Linked DNA regions of Homo sapiens: region 2 is linked to region 1. The links are contacts of gene promoters, found by promoter capture Hi-C in blood cells and fetal thymus (Javierre and others, 2016). All regions are on one chromosome and are shown on one strand. Each heading gives the region's core, a stretch centred on a gene start or on the middle of the fragment in contact. The rest is flanking DNA. Distances are from core to core; before and after follow the strand shown.

Region 1 (3,377 bases), core at 567-3,066:
CCGTGCGTGGTGCCTAGTGCATGGCACACAGTAGGTTTTCAGTCGATGTTTGAGAGAATGAGAGGTTGTGGAAGCATCAGTTCTTATTGATGTTTCTGTCTGAGAGTCTTGTTTCTTCCAATTTTATAGTCCCAAAACAATTGGCTCAAATTTCATTTAAAACTCATGCTACAGCTGGAACCTGAAAATCCTTTCACTCATAAGGTTCTTTGATTTCTCACAAATGGAATAAAGTCCTATGGGAGAATAGCTGTTACAGGAATTGTTCAAAGCCTGTCCAAGTTGGTGGGCCTCACATATTACCTATTATGTGTTTAGTTCACACAACTAAACTTTTCAAGCATTATTTTCTGTTCTTGGAGGCTGTTCTATTTAACTCCCTTATATTTACAGGTATACTAGCATACTATACATTTTCTTAACTTCATAGTACAATTTTTCTCCTCATACTTGAAAAGACAGTTTCAAGATAATATAGGGCAGATCCTTACCTGAGTGTAGTGGCCACAGACTTTTTTGCATATCCGAGTCTTGAAGTCATAGTCCTGGATTTCGTCATACCAGTTTGTGATGGCGGAAGACACAGAAAAAATGGGCACAGACCCAGTCCAGATGTTCTCTCCCAGTGAAGTGAAGTTTGGGTGCAGCTTGTGGGGTGGCTTCAGCCGTGTATTATGTGAAAACTGGCAATTGCTGGCCCATGCTTTTGCAATTTGGGCTAGTGCTGGGTCCCAAGTCTGCAAAAATAAACATTAAACAATAGGGGGTTCATCTGAAATGTAACTGGGGTGAGTACAGTGGGAATTTGAATGGAAAACGAGGTGAGATAAGGAGAGAAGATACCACTGCATATGAGTCCTCTATAAATATGGTCTTCAAGCACTGAGTAGGGCTGGTAGGAAACGTGACAATTTAGTTTCATGGAATTTAGAATCTAAGTGAGGAAAACTGACATTTCACTGAAGGCTAATTGTGGGCAAAATAGTGTGTGCCGTGTTTCACAACATTATTCCATAACCACAACAGCCCATATCCTAAGAAGTTCAGAAAGGTTAAAAACCAGCTTAAAGCCACAGATCTGAAATTCAATCCCAAGCCTTACTGAATCAAAATCCCATCCTTTCCCCAGATGCCATTCTGCCTACCTGAGCAACTCAGTACTTTGTCAGCAGCAAAAAAAGTAAATTTAGAGACAAAAAAAAAAAAAAAAAAAGAAAACCAAATCACAAAAATTAACAGGGAGGAAGATAACAAAAAGAGAAGTAAAATCCACTGAAAACCAGAAAACAGGAAGTGTCCAAAGAGAAGTAAAATGTGCTGTGGCACTTGCTTATAACAACAGTTGGGTAGACAGAGCTAAACTGGATGTGTTTTGATCACAGACTGTGAATTTACTGCATACATTAATCACAATGAAAAAAAAATCATTCAGTATTACGAAGGTATTAACACCAAAGTCAATACACATTAGTTGTTTCTGACTGACTGACGCCACAATTAATGATATTTTCCTTACCATGTATAGCATATCACTGGCTGTTGGTTTCACCTCTGATCGGAACTTGTTATGGATTCGAACGCAGTCTTTGATGAAATCTTCATTTTCGATATCTGGCAAAATATTTGCTGTGTGTGAATAATTGGAGACAAAAGAAACCATCCAGGCTATTGTAGCAAGTGTGACACGCATGCTTTGTCTGGCATGGAGCCTTGGGAGGCTGCAGTCCAGAGCCGCCGCAGTTTCTGAGAGTGTGATTGCCTGAGTGCTCAGCCCACAGCTTTGCAAACCTAGCCGACTTCAGCTTTGAGAAAACAGAACAGAGCATGAGTTCATCACTAGTTTTAAGAAACGGGTTTCTCCATATATGGTGTGCAGCTCACTTTGTGTTCTTAACCCTGTCTTTTCAGTGGTTTTCAGTGACACAGCACCTATTACGACATAGATTTTTATGAGGCTGTGTCAGACTTCCTTTTGAATTGGGAGATATTTCCAAAGAAAATTCTGAAGTCTCCAGGAATAATAGTCTCCAATTTTTAATGGAGGTTGCGGTGATAAAATGAAAATATCTCTTACTTCTATAAATGCCTCGCAAAATGCTTTCAGAAATCTTTTTCTTTTTAGAGTCATATCAACACATAGTGGTTGGAATATCTGGTTAACATCATAAACTTGACCTAGAATTCATTCACGATGGTAGAAACATGTAAGCGTGTATGTGTGTGTGTGTGTGTGTGTGTGAGAGAGAGAGAGGGAGAGAAAGAGAGAGAGAGAGAAAGAGAGAGAGGGATTGAGAGGGAGAATAGTAGAAAGAATACAGGACTCAAGTTGAGAATTTAGTTTCTGTTTCTAACTAGCTGTAAGACCTTGGACAGGATACAAAACTCTCTAAACCTCAGCCACCTATTGAATGAGACTATGGGACCTTTTCTGCTTCCTTAATTACAGAGGTTTGGCAGGATCAAATGAACTAGCTAATATTAAATTCCTGCCTTGTATATTCACCTTAGTAATACAGAAATAAAAACACAGTCACTGGCCCCAAGGAGCTTACAGTGGTAAGAGCTGTGAGATGGTGATGACAAGGATGTTACAACAGGGGCTGTTGGAGATCTGGATATAGGAAAGCACAGGTAGATATGGACACACAAGAGAGCATACTTAACCCATTCTGGAAACGGCAGAGCCGGCCTACATACAGCAGGTGAGGTCTTTGCTGAGGCTAGAATCAGCTAGGTGTTGATCAAGTGAAAAAGCGCTGGAGAGGAGAAGGGAATTAGAGGGATAGGAACTATATATCTAGTTGTGAAATTGAAGACATGGTGTTATGGCAAGAATAGAGCAAGAACCTCTCCATATTGTCTCCCTCTGTAAATATGGTCTGTAAATAAGTAGTGATTCTGACTGGTAGAAAACTTGATACCTGGTGTCATGGAATTCAGAATCCAAATGATGCTTTCATGCCACTTGGGGGAGAGAAGTTAAGAGTCAGATCAGGAAGGATTTCTCAATTCTGCTAATGATTTTTTATTTTATCACCAAAGTCATGGGAAGTTATTGGAGGATTTTAGCTGTAGGTGGGGTTTAGACCTGGTTTTAGAAAACACGTGTATTTTAGAAAATTAAGAGAGATGGAAAATGGAATGAGGTGGGGAAATATTTCTAATGCAAACAAAAAGTAAAGAAACATTCCAGGCACACCTGTAGCCCCACCTACTCAGAAAGTTGAGGTGGGAGGATAGCTTGATCCCCACAATTTGAGGCTGTGAAGAGCTATAGTCAGGTCACTGCAATCCAGCCTGGGTGACAGAGCGAGGCCCCATCATTAAAAACAAACATACGGGCCAGGCGCGGTGGCTCACGCCTGTAATCCCAGCAC
Region 2 (3,377 bases), core at 302-2,801, 43 kb after region 1:
CATCCAATCAGAGGTATCACTTTGCAGTAAAGGAGTTTCAGGAGGGGTGTCCTGACTGTGGAACCCACTGGTTGTATTATACATCACACTATGTAGAAATTGCTGGCCGATAAACCATTAGGATAGTCTTTTGAAGGTGCAGCTAAAGTTCCAGCATAGAGGCAGTACAGTTGGCCCTCCATATCTGCAGGTGCTGTGTCTGTGGATACAGCCAACTGCAGATCAAAAATCCCACCCTCACCCACACCAAAGGGAGAGAGTGCCAAAGCACCCTTTGGGACAAAGGAAACCAGACTGTGCACTCTCATCTGCCTGAGAGCTCCCTGCTTGTGAGAAGACGATGATTGTGCCCCTCCCAGCGGAGAAATGGGTGTGGTGTTGGGCTCTGTAGGGGAGGAGGGTGGTTCCACCACAGCAGCCAGGCAGTACCAGTGCCTGGAACGGATGTGGAAATAAGGTCTCCTCCACCCCTCATCTACTGCTGTGGATGTCCCTGCTGGGAATTGACACAGTAGCAGCTGTCCCTGCTGGGAATTGGCACAACAGCACCTGGGGAGAACATTTCTAGGGCTATTGAGGGTTAATTCACCCCCACAGATGGTGTGCCTACTGGCCTAAGCTTGCACAAAGGGTGGGGCCCATCCCAATGTGGAGCATTCGCATTCCTATGGCAGAGTGCAAGTGAGTTGCAGAGCTGTCTGTTAAGGTTTGAGGGAAGAGGTTCTGCCCCAAGGCCATTTCAGGAGTAGCCATGGAATGGGAATGTTTCTTGACCTCAGCTGAATTGTGGGCTGAGGATAAGGACAATATCTATTTGAACCAAATAACAAAAGCCCCTGGACAGGTGTGTGATAGGGAAGCAGACTGTCTTCTTGTTTAGTGCAGCCTCCTTTATCCCCCCATAGTGGAGACCTCAGGACCCTGAGCCCCTCTCTGCCCCCCTGCCCCATCAGGGTGGGTGCTTCCACTAGTAACTGGGGTATTCAAAGACGAGTTTGGAAGTCCAGCTCTGCCCAAATTTGTCCCTTGCTCTGGGCTGAGTGAGGAACTCAGGGCATTGAGTAGTCCACAGACCAGCCAACTGCCTGTGACAACAGAAATCCCCTCCCAGTGAACAAAGAAAAAGAACATAGGCATCAACCTCTGTGGTAGCCAGCTTTTACCCATAAGCACCACCTACTGGACTGGAAATTGAAGTGCCCAACCAAATATAAAACCTGCTGACTGAAGAGCACAGTGCTAGGGAATGAGATAAGCTTCCTGAGGCCTCTGCACTCTCAGCCCGGCAGAAGGTAGTGAGCCTGCTTATATACCCAATACATTGCTACTACAATCAGCATTTAAGAAAGCCACCACACAAAAGCTATCTATAACTAAGGAACTCATACAGAACCTTGGCTCACTGAAAGCACCCAGAATCAAAGCCAAATGATTATACACAATATACATTACTACAGTCACACCCTCGAGGGAAAAAAAGTGTCATTCAAAAGAAAGTAAATTCAAAAATAAAAAATGATAGCTTCCTCAGATGAGAAGGAATCAGCGTAAGAATTCCAACAGTATAAAAAACCAGTGTTTCAACACTCCCAAAGGATCATACTAGCTCTCTAGCAATGGATCTTAATCAAAATGAAAATTCTAAAATGACAGATAAAGAATTTAAAATATGTATTGTAAGGAAGCTCAATGAGGTCCAAGATAAAGTTGAAAACCAACACGAAATCAGAAAAAAACTCAGAATATGAATAAACAATTACTAAAGAAATACATATTAAAAAGCAAACTGAACTTCTGGAAATAAAAAAAATTATTGAAGGAGTTACAAAATACAACTGAAAGCTTTAACAATAGACTGGAACAAGCATAAGAAAGACTTTTAGAGCTCGAAGACCAATCCTTTGATTTAACCTAGGCAGACAAAAATTTAAAAAATAAAATAAAATAAATAAACAAAGCCTTCAAGAAATATGGGATTATGTAAAGTGACCAAACCTATGAGTTATAGGCAATCTTAAGCAAGAAGAAGAAGAAGTAAAAAGCTTGGAAAACCTATCCAAGGGAACAATTTGGGAAACCGTCCCTAGTCTTGCTAGAGAATTAGGCATTCAGATACAAGAAGCAAAGAGAATCCCTAGAAGATACTCTACAAGATATACCTCATCAAGGTATATAGTCTTCAGACTATTCAAGTCAATGTGAAGGAAAAAATCCTAAAAGCAGCAGGAGAGAAACATATAATAACTTATAAAGGAAATCCCATCAGACTAACAGCAGACTTCTCAGCATAAACCTTACAAGTCAGAGGACATTGGGGTTCCATTTTTAATCTTCTTAAAGAAAGGAACTGCCAGCCAAGAATTCTGTATCCTCCTAAGCCAAGTTTCATAAATGAAGGATAAATGAAGTAGTTCTCAGACATGCAAATGCTAAGGGAATTTGTTAACACTAGCCTGGCCCTAAAAGAAATTCTCACAGAAATTCTAAACATAGAAACAAAAGGATAATATTTGCCATTATAAAAGAACACAAAAGAAAACTCATGGGTCTTATAAAGCAATTATAAGACTAGAAAGCAACTAGGTAACAATTAACATTATGACAAGAATAAAACCTCACATATCAATATTAATCTTGAATGTCAATGAACTGAATGCTCCACTTTAAAAATTTAGACTGGTGAATTGAATAAAAAGACAAATTCAACCATATGCTGCTTACAAGAATGCCACCTAATGAGTAAAGACTCAAAGTACAGGGGTGAGAAAAATATCCCATGCAAATGGAAACCAAAAGTGAGCAGGAGTAGCTATACTTATATCAGATAAAATAGACTTTAAATCAACAACAGTAAAAAAAAAAAAAAAAAAAAAAAGACAAAGAAGATCATTATATAATGATAAAGGGATCAATTCAATAAGGAGATATAACAACCTTAAGTATATATGTACCCCAAACTGGAGCACCCAGATTCATAAAACTAATATTCCTAGATGTAAGAAAAGAGATCAACAGCAATAAAATAATAGTGGTGAGGCCGGGTGCGGTGGCTCACGCCTGTAATCCCAGCACTTTGGGAGGCCGAGGCAGGCGGATCACGAGGTCAGGAGATCGAGACCATCCTGGCTAACATGGTGAAACTCTGTCTCTACTAAAAATGCAAAAAATTAGCCGGACATGGTGGTGGGCACCTGTAGTCCCAGCTACTCGGGAGGCTGAGGCAGGAGAATCGCATGAACCCGGGAGGCGGAGCTTGCAGTGAGCTGAGATAGCGCCACTGCACTCCAGCCTGAGCGAAAGAGCAAGACTCCGCCTCAAAAAAAAAAAAAAAATAATAGTGTTGGGCTTCAATACCTGACTGACAATACTAGACAGAT

What was found. The method cuts DNA at HindIII sites, captures the fragments that hold promoters and counts their contacts. A CHiCAGO score of 5 or more calls a contact.
Region 2: a fragment that was not itself captured here is called in contact with the fragment with the promoter of GLIPR1 in region 1 in 1 of 17 cell types (total B cells); the score reaches 5.2 in total B cells.

What each region holds. Positions count from the first base shown.
Region 1 is chr12:75,479,194-75,482,570 of GRCh38, reverse strand. It overlaps GLIPR1 (GLI pathogenesis related 1), which reads right to left and starts at 1,816. Exons shown (of 6, transcript NM_006851.3): 1 at 1,517-1,816; 2 at 492-737. The coding sequence starts at 1,690. The HindIII fragment of the contact is 5,495 bases long and covers 1-3,377 here.
Region 2 is chr12:75,435,557-75,438,933 of GRCh38, reverse strand. No RefSeq gene overlaps it. Among named protein-coding and RNA genes, the nearest start is that of GLIPR1, 44 kb to the left of the region's middle. The HindIII fragment of the contact is 586 bases long and covers 1,259-1,844 here.